3 separate regions of the Homo sapiens genome follow, and all the other regions are linked to region 1. Evidence: promoter capture Hi-C in 16 types of primary human blood cells and fetal thymus (Javierre and others, 2016). All regions are on one chromosome and are shown on one strand. Each heading gives the region's core, a stretch centred on a gene start or on the middle of the fragment in contact. The rest is flanking DNA. Distances are from core to core; before and after follow the strand shown.

Region 1 (3,235 bases), core at 542-3,041:
GCACATGGAGGGGCACCAAGCCCCCAGACATGGGAGTGAAGCCAACTTTCAGTCAAGTCACCAGCAGAACTGCCCAGCCAACCCAGATTTTGAGAAACAATTCTTGTTTTAAGGCACTGGTTTGCAGTGATTTGTTACCCAACAATAGATAACTGAGACATTACCCATATGCGTAACTAAAGGAAGTGCTCAATTCCAATTGGAGATTGCTAAAAATAGTTATGTTTTTTCCCCATCAAAGTTCAGGGATCCTCTGAAATCTATGTGCAGATCCTTTGAGGAGCTGAGGGCCCCAGGTTAGGAACCCCTGGTTAAGCCAAGTGGATCCTGCTCTCCTTTTTACTACTTTACTACACTGTTGGTACACATATAGTTAAACTGGCCACAGCATATCTTTCCTTGTTGTAACCCTGAAATGGAGCTGAGCTCCTAGCACATAACAGGTGTTTAACACACAAATTTATCAAATGAATGTTGATTATAGGATCTGTCTTCCTGACTAAACTGTGAGCTGCCTGAAAACAGAGTAAGAGCAAATACTAGGCCTTTTCCAAGTGCTTTACACATACCAACTTACTCCTTATAACAACCCTATGAGGTAGATGTTATTACCCCAACTTCACCAAAGGAAGATAGGCACAGTGACTTGCCCAAGGTCACACAGCTAGAAAGTGGCAATGCCAGGACTAGAAGGCAGAATGCATGTTCTGATTTTACAGCCTTTATTAACGTACCCAAAGCACATTGCAGAGCTCAATAAAACTTTTAAATGAATAGTACAATTCTGAGATTTCATTAGCACTATTTTATGGGTACTATGCTTCTTGAAGACTCAATTTTGTAGATTAATTTCTGGTAGCCTGTGATTTTTTATGACAAAATACATATAATTTACTTTTTAAAAAGTAGAATAATGGCTTTATGCTAAAGTGCAGATTTTCGAAATTAAGTCTTCATCGTAAAAGTCGATTTTTTTCCAAAGGACACGAGTTCACAAAACGCAGGGAAGGGGGTCCACTGGCCCGTATTAAATAATGTTCCCTGAGGAGTGGAGCAAAGCTCCAGCTTCCCTCGTCACCCAGCCATCCCACCCCAGCCTCCCCCATACCCTGCACAGCTTCTCCTAAAATGACCCTCCCCCATCCACACATCAGGTTCTGAAACCTGACCCTGCCAGGCAACTAAAGCCGCGAACCCCACAGTGCCCTGAGCTGGCCTCACCCTACCCACGATCCCAAGAGGGTACTAGCCGAGGGGATGGGTACTTTGGGGGAAGGCACTTTAAATTTTCAAAGTGTTTAATTCACGAAAGCACAACCCAAAGGGCCGCCCCCACCCACCCGGGGGTCTCCCGCCTCCGCCCGGCAGCCGCTCATCCCCAGTAGACCAGTGAATGAACCGCGGGGCCGGGACGCAGCCGGCCCAGTGGCGGGAAAAGCCTCGGGGTGAGCCAGGCCTGGCTGCAGAGAGGCCCCAAGAGAGCGCGGGGAGGGCTCGGGCGGCCGGGAGGGGGCGGTGACAGCTGTGACTCGACTCCACGCTCTCACCTTGAACATGTCGCTGGCAGCGGAGGCTCCGGCAGGGTCACCCCGGCCTCGGCCACGCCCACTATAGAGAGGTGACTACGGAGGCCCGGTAGGGCCTTGATTTCTCCAACCGCAAGCAGGCAGCGGTGCGGGTGACGGCCGTACTGCAAACTCGGTGCGGCGAAGGTTTAGTTCAATCACCCGGTTCTAGAAGCCGCGTCGCTGAGCCGCAGCGCGTCGCGCCCGGGCAGCGGGTGAACGCAAACCCCGCCCTCCAGGAGGCTCCGCCCCTGCGCCGGCGGTTGCTAGGCGGCAAGAAAGCGCCGGCTCTGTGTGGACGGTACGCGGAGGCGCGAGGAGGGAGGCGCCTGGCGTTGCCGCGGCGCTGGGAAACTGTCTTTGCAGCGGCGACTGGGCGCCCAGCGGCGTGTACTGGGATTTCTGTGAGCAGAGGCTGCCGAGAGGGGGCGCTTGGAGGGCCACCGGCGGCTTCGAAAGCTTCGCAGCCGGAAGCCGCCGGTTGGCGGCCTGGATTTACCTTACGAAAGGTTTTAACCAAGGACTTGAGGTTTCTCAGGTTTTAAATTTAAACTAATATGCTGTGTCCTTTAATCGGAAAAGGCTCTGACCTTATTTTTTCCCGTTAAGAAACAAGCGGTAAGCCTCCTCTCTGGAAATCAAATGTTTGTCCCTTAATACTTGTAGAAGTAACTGATAATGGCAATAATTATCTTATTAACAAGAGTAAACAAGCACTGATACAGCACTTTGATATGCGCAGCCCTGATCTAAGTTCTTTATTCACATTCATCTAATCTTTCCAACAACGGAAGTAGGTGGGCATGATTATTATTCCCAATACATAGATGAAGAAACTGAGGCACGTAGAAGTAATTTGTACAAGACCACATAGGAAGTGGGAAGCTAGGATCCAAACCCATTAGTCTGCCTTTGAAACCTGTGTTCTAGCCAAAACAATTGTTGCACTGTCTCATAATGAGGATGTATTTCCTATTTCATTCTGTATTTCTGCCCTAATCCTATAAAAAGTGTAAGCCCCATCCAGGCGAGCATCTGGAAAAATTTAGAATTTGTACAGTGACGTGCCACTGCCCTCCAGCCAAAGACCACTAGGGGCACACCTGTAGTTGAAGAAATTGGGTTTCTCATTGCTGCAAGGAGAACGCACACGTAGGAACACAGTGACATATTTCAGTAAAAGAGTTAGATTTATTATAGGATTTGGGCTTTGGTTCGGTGATTTTGGGGCGAGTTCAAGGAAGCAGGAGCTTTGCTCTGGATCGGGTGTTGTTAGGAAGCAGTGGTAACACCAAGGCCCAGCTGTGACTGCCAGCCTTGGTGTTAGTTAAGCCCAGCTTAGCTCCCAGATGTTAAGGGCTGCTTTTCTCTTTCTTAAGAGGATTGTATATTCCAAGGCATCCCCAAGGAGAAATACTGAATAGACTCAGAAGGCTCTCTGCATCAGCAGTGTAACGTCACACATACATAAAAATGTGAAACATATTGATAAATTAGGGCAGAAGTTCTTAATTCAGGGGGTATGTGAACTTGTATGGGGGAAAAAATGACAACTTCATTTTCACTAACCTCTAACTGAACTTTGTTTCTTTCAATTATAGTGTAGATAACAAGCCACAGTAGTATTAACATTGATGACTTTGTCATCAATGGAAAGCACAGATATTTTC
Region 2 (3,235 bases), core at 514-3,013, 180 kb before region 1:
AGCCCGAAGCAAGCCCAGACCCACCAGACAGCTTGTTACCACTCCACAGAGACTCAGTGCCCAAATCAGAGTAAGAACTCAGCACATGAGTCTGACAGTATCAAACATCTTCAGGAAAGAGAAACAAAGCACAAGGACTTGGCTACCTGTTTTCCTCCTGGCTTTGTCCTAATTAATCATGAAACAATTATTTCACTCAGTTATCCCTCCTTCCCCATAACACCCTTGACTCCTATACCACCCTGTGGTTATCTGTATACTTTCCATATTTTAACAAGCATTTATATGTGCCATGCATGGTTCATGCACCTTACAGATATCAACTCATTTAAAGTCGTATAATTATACGTTGGGCCGGGCGCGGCGGCTCAGCCTGTAATCCCAGCACTTTGGGAGGCCAAGGCAGGCGGATCACGAGGTCGAGAGATCGAGACCATCCTGGCTGACATGGTGAAACCCCATGTCTACTAAAAATACAAAAATTAGCCGGGCGTGGTGGCGTCCCAGTTACTCAGGAGGCTGAGGCAGGAGAATCAATTGAACCCAGGAGGCAGAGGTTGCAGTGAGCCGAGATCGTACCACTGCACTCCAGCCTGGCAACAGAGCAAGACTGTCTCAAAAAAAAAAAAAAAAAAAAAAAAGTTGTATGATTATATGTTGATTGGCTCCCTGCTTCCCCCATGATCCATTCAAATTTGTATCACAAACTCTCAGACAAGATATGTGGCTCAATAAATACTTGTTGAGTAAGTGTAAATCCTTCCATCTATGCACCTGCTAAAGGACACACTGGGGGAATGATAGGCTAAAGGCAATAAACTCCATTTAAAAGTCTTTGTCCAGCAAAGAAATCAGATGGCTCCAACCTATGGCAACAGGAGTAGAAATGAAAAGACTATGAGTTAAGAAGAAGGTAAACCTGAGAAGACTTGAATAAATTCAGTTTTCTAGCTTGCATAGGTAAGCGTGGTGTACTAGTCACTGAAAAAGAGAAGAGAGACTGGGCACAGTGGCTCATGCCTGTAATCCCAACACTTTTAGAGGCGAAGGCAGGAAGATCACTTGAGCCTAGGAGTTCAAGACCAGCCCAGGCAACACAGCAGAGACTCCATCTCTACCAAAAACACAAAAGTTAGCCAGGTGTGGTGGCACATGCCTGTAGTCCCAGCTACTCGGGAGATAGGTAGGAGGATTGCTTGAACCCAGGAGGTCAAGACTGTAGTTAGCCATGATCATGCCGCTACACTCCAGCCTGAACAACAGAGTAAGACTCTGTCTCAAAATAAAAAGAGAATATAGGAAGAAAAGAATGGGCCATTTTCAATGCGTTGAATTTGAAGAGCCTATGGCACATCCAAATGAAGGTATTGGGGAGGGCACAGTTGTTCACACCTGTAATCCTAGGGCTTTGCAAGGCCATAGCAGGAGGATCACGTGAGCCCAGAGCTTGAGACTAGCCTGGGCAACAGAGTGAGACCCCTGTCTCTACAAAAAACTTTAAAAATTAGGCCAGGCATGGTGGATCAAGCCTGTAATCCCAGCACTTTGGAAGACAGAGGCAGATGGATCACTTGAGCCCAGGAGTTCCAGACCAGCCCAGGCAACATGGTGAGATCCCGTCTCTACAGTAAAATACAAAAATTAGCCAGGCATGGTGGCGTGTGCCTGTGGTCCCAGCTACTTGAGAGGCTAAGATGGGAGGATGCTTGAGCCCGAGATGTCGAGGATACAGTGAGTGGTGATCGCACCACTGGACTCCACCCTGGGTGACAGAGCAAGACCCTATTCCAAAAAAACAAAACAAATTAGCCAGGCATGGTGCAGTGTGCCTATAGTCCCAGCTACTCAGGAGGCTGAGGCAGAAGGAACACTTGAGCCCGCAAGTTTAAGGTTGCAGTAGGCTATGATTTTACCACTGCACTACAGCCCGGGCAACAGAGTGAGACTGTCTCTAAAAAAGAAAAATAAATCTAGTAGCTAAGAGGAAAAATTGATTGAAACTCAGAAAAGCAGGCCAGAAAATGTAGCTTTGTAAGTATTCAGCATACTGATAGCAACTGAAACACTGGGAGTAGATGAGTTTATAGAGAATCTGCAACGTCAACCCAAAAAAGGGCAGAAGGGAAGGGTAGAGAAGAGACGGAGGAAAATGTAATATAAATGTAGTTTTTACCACTGATCAGTACACTTAAAAATGATAAAGATGAGCCAGGCGCGGTGGCTCACACCTGTAATCCCAGCACTTTGGGAGGCCGAGGTGGGGGGATCACCTGAAGTCACGAGTTTGAGACCAGCCTGACCAACATGGCAAAACCCCATCTCTACTAAAGATACAAAAATTAGCTGGGCGTTGTGGTAGATGCCTGTAATCCCAGCTACGTCGAAAGCTGAGGCAGGAGAACTGCTCGAACTCGAGAGGCAGAGGTTACAGTGAGCCGAGATGGTGCCACTGCACTCCAGTCTAGGTGACAGAGTGAGACTCTGTCTCAAAAAAAAAAAAAAAAAAAGATAAAGATGGTAAATTTTATATTTTAACCTCAACTGAAAAAATAGGGCTGGGCGCAGTGGCTCACACCTGTAATCCCAACACTTTGGGAGGCCGAGGTGGGGGGATCCCTTGAGTCCAGCAGTTTGGGACCAGCCTGGGCAACATGGCAGACCTTGTCTCTACTAAAAATCAAAAAAATTAGCTGGGCATGGTGGTGTGCACCCGTAGTCCCAGCTACTCAGGAGGCTAAGGCAGGAGGACTGCTTGAGCCAGGAGGTCAAGGCTACAGTGAGCTGTGATCACGCCACTGCACTCCAGCCTGGGTGACAGAGTGAGACCCTGTCTCAAAAACTAAATAAATAATTTTAAAAGATTTAACAATTTTATTGTTAAATTTTAAAATGCCTTAAAATTTAATTAATATGAACAAATTATAAAATTCAAAAGGCCGGGCGCAGTGGCTCACGTCTGTAATCCCAGCACTTTGGGAGGCCGAGGCGAGTGGATCACCTGAGGTCAGAAGTTCGAGACCAGCCCGGCCAACATGGTGAAACCCCGTCTCTACTAAAGATACAAAAAATTAGCCGGGCGTGGTGGTGTGTGCCTGTTATCCCAGCTACATGGGAGGCTGAGGCAGGAGAATCCCTTGAACCCGGGAGATGGAGGATGCAGTGAGCTGAGATAGCGCCATTGCACTCCAGCCTGGGCAACAAGAGCGAAACTACAGCTCAAAAAAAATAAATAAAC
Region 3 (3,235 bases), core at 405-2,904, 170 kb after region 1:
ACACATTTTTGGCTCCTGACTTTTTGCTCTTTCCCAGGTTATTGAGTTTGCCCCTTGCTTTCCATTCCTCGTCACCTCATCACAGTCCATACCACCATCACTTTACACTTCACAGTTAGTGCGAAAGACTCCTAGTTTGCCTCTTAACTTGGTCAAAATTAGTCTTCTTAAAACATTTTCATCATGCTGTGTTTAATAATTTCTAGAGTCTTCTCACTACTTTTTGATATTTGGGACTTTTCTAGAAACCTGCTTCAACCCATTTAAGCTTTCCTTCTGCATTGTCTTATATAAACCCTCTAAATTAGACTGTTTTGTGCCCTAACTGTCCCCATAATTATTCACATCACCCCTACCCACTATCTACTTCCTTAATTATTTATTTTATATTTTTTAGAGGCAGGGTCTCTCTGTTGACCAGGCTGGAGTTTAGTGGCATGATCATAGCTCACTGCAGCCTCAGTGTCTAAGTAGCTAGGACTATTGGCTCACACCACCGTGATCAGCTAATTTTTTTGTTTTTTGTAGACACTTGGTCTCACTGTGTTGCCCAGCATGATCTCAAACTCCTGGCCTCAAGCCATCCTCCCACCTCAGCCTCTCAAAGTGTTGGGATTACAGACATGAGCCACCCCGCCCAGCCCTGTTTCCTTTATTAAGGCTTCCATGCTACTGTGCCCACGATGGTCTCATCACTTGTCCAGGAGATTTATCTGAATTATTGCCCTGTAATTTAGAAAGTTAAATTTTTGTTGTCTCTTAAGTAAATAATTATTTGTGGTGACTTATGCCCTTTTGATTTTACTGTCTTTTGTGATTATATTTTTTTGCTATTACAGACACACGACTTCCAGTGTATTTTGAAATAGATTTAAGCAATAAACTTTCAGTCCAGGCACGGTGGCTCATGCCTGTAAGCCCAGCACTTTGTGAGGCCGAGGTGGGCGGATCACTTGAGGCCAGGAGTTCGCAACCAGCCTGGCCGACATAGTGAAACCCCATCTCTACTAAAAATACCAAAAAATCAGCCGGGCATGGTGGCGCATGCCTGTAGTCCCAGCTACTCGGGAGGCTGAGGCATGAGAATTGTTTGAACCCAGGAGCCAGAGGTTGCAGTGAGCCGAGATCGTACCACCGCACTCCAGACTGGGTGACAGAGTGAGACTGTCTCAGAAAAAACACACAAAAGCAAGAATAAAAAAGAATCTAAGAATATAGTGTGGGCTTTCTTTATGGAGGAGCAGGCTTTGGGAACAAATTTGAATTCAGAAGATAAGCAGGTAAAATTTATCACAAGATTGTGTGGTAATGAGAGTGAAGTGGATGTAAGATTTATGATTTCTTTTATTTTCATTTTGCAGTTTAATTGGTTGGGGTCAGATAAGAAGAGGAGTGACAATCAAGCCAACAGTAGATGATGACTGAAGAATACCAGTTAAATAATACATTCGGATGGATTTGGAAGTTGGAATTCCTCTTAACAACCAAGGGGTTTATTTTCAAAGCAATATTGGGGAATTGATTTCACAGTTCGTTACCTTAGTAGGTAACGGTAAGGTTATTCTCTTTTTTTTTTTTTTTTTTTTTGGTTATGAAAACTTAGGGACTAAAATTAATATAAAAATTGGCATAATGTTGGATTGAATCTACATTTTGGCAGAAGTTAAACATTCCCACATAATGTCAAAATTATACATCATGCAGTTCTGTTTTTTTGTTTGTTTTATTTTGTTTTGTTTTTGAGTCTGGCTCTGTCACCCAGGCTGGAGTGCAGTGGCGTGATCTGCAACCTCTGCCCCCCGGGTTCAAGCGATTCTCCTGCCTCAGCCTCCCGAGTAGCTGAGATTACAGGTGCGCGCCACCACACTTGGCTAATTTTTGTATTATTAGTAGAGACGGGGTTTCAGCATGTTGGCTAGGCCGGTCTCTCCTGACCTCAGGGTGATCAGCCCACCTCGGCCTCACAAAGTGCTGGGATTACAGGCGTGAGCCACCTTGCCCAGCCCACATCATACAGTTTGAAATGAAACTTTGCCACAACCAGCCTTTGCTGTAGCACACACATATATCACTGAACCTGTTTGAAATAAAGTTTTTTTTCTTTTTCATGATTCGTCTTTGAGTACCTCCAGGCTGAAAGACTGTTGTACCAGTAAAAACTTAAAGGCACAAATTCTCCTTGAAGACCTTCTCCCTTTTATGTGGCCCCATATTTTATGTTGCTTTATCTTTGAAATTTTGCATGAAAAGGAAATGAATGGATTCGAATGAAATTGTCCTTTAGAGCATGATTACTTGTTCCCATGGACAAATATTTTTCTCCCCTTGCTCTTCCTGGCCTGAAACACGGGAAACCAGAGTCAAAAGTTATCTCCCTCTCCCTGTGATGCCTTGAGATTTTTTTCTGCGTTGTTTAATGCCTGAAATCCAAGTCTTCCTCCATGGGAAAATACTGTTATACCAAATAATTCTAGATGAGTAACAAAGATCTTTTTAGGCCTTCATTTTATGTTTTTTCTTAACTGTTATATTATGATTGTGACATAGATTATACTACTACTAATTTTTGGATGTTTCAAAAGGTCAAGAAGTAAAAGATGTTAGAAAGCAATGAGTGAGTCCTTTTGATTTTTAACTTATTCCCCATGTCCCTATACTTCGTGTGCTTTTCCTTTTTTTTTTTGAGACGGAGGCTCACTCCGTCACCTAGGCTAGAGTACAGTGGCACGATCTTGGCTCGCTGCAACCTCTGCCTCCCTGATTCAAGTGATTCTCGTGCTTCAGCCTCCCATGTAGCTGATATTACAGGCACTTGCCACCATACCCGGCTAATTTTTGTATTTTTAGTAGAGATGGGGTTTCACCATGTTGCCCAGGCTGGTCTTGAACTCCTAACCTCAGGTGATCCGCCCGCCTCTGCCTTCCAAAGTGCTGGGATTACAGGCGTGAGCCACTCTGCCCGGCTTATTTTTCTTTATGTTTTTGCTTCGTAAGAGGTTCTGTTGAGCAGTGATTTGCAACTCTTGCTGACGTTGCTGGGGAAGCTTTAAAAAAAAAAAAGATGCCCCACAGAGATTCTGATTTTAATTGTTCTGATTTAATTGGCTTGGAGTAGAATTCAGGCATTGATATCTTTAAAAACTCCCCAGTGTTGAGAAACAAATTTAGAGAGTTGAGAAGTAGGTATATTAAATTACAGAATCTTACTGAGTTTTGGTAGACTGATAATACAATT

What was found. Contacts are between HindIII fragments. The CHiCAGO score rates a contact against its expected background, and 5 or more counts as called.
Region 2: a contact is called between a fragment that was not itself captured here and the fragment with the promoter of APOO in region 1, in 16 of 17 cell types (monocytes, M1 macrophages, non-activated CD4 T cells and 13 more). The highest score is 15.6, in monocytes.
Region 3: a contact is called between a fragment that was not itself captured here and the fragment with the promoter of APOO in region 1, in 1 of 17 cell types (activated CD4 T cells). The highest score is 5.8, in activated CD4 T cells.

Annotation. Positions count from the first base shown.
Region 1 is chrX:23,906,147-23,909,381 of GRCh38, forward strand. It overlaps APOO (apolipoprotein O), which reads right to left and starts at 1,792. Exons shown (of 9, transcript NM_024122.5): 1 at 1,548-1,792. The coding sequence starts at 1,556. It overlaps CXorf58 (chromosome X open reading frame 58), which reads left to right and starts at 1,860. Exons shown (of 9, transcript NM_152761.3): 1 at 1,860-2,183. RefSeq lists a silencer at 1,192-1,361 and an enhancer at 1,542-1,751. The HindIII fragment of the contact is 4,107 bases long and covers 1-2,022 here.
Region 2 is chrX:23,722,983-23,726,217 of GRCh38, forward strand. All of the region lies in intron 6 of ACOT9 (acyl-CoA thioesterase 9), which reads right to left. Among named protein-coding and RNA genes, the nearest start is that of ACOT9, 19 kb to the right of the region's middle. The HindIII fragment of the contact is 5,864 bases long and covers 1-3,235 here.
Region 3 is chrX:24,075,361-24,078,595 of GRCh38, forward strand. It overlaps EIF2S3 (eukaryotic translation initiation factor 2 subunit gamma), which reads left to right. Exons shown (of 12, transcript NM_001415.4): 12 at 1,362-3,235. The coding sequence ends at 1,425. Among named protein-coding and RNA genes, the nearest start is that of EIF2S3, 22 kb to the left of the region's middle. The HindIII fragment of the contact is 2,776 bases long and covers 267-3,042 here.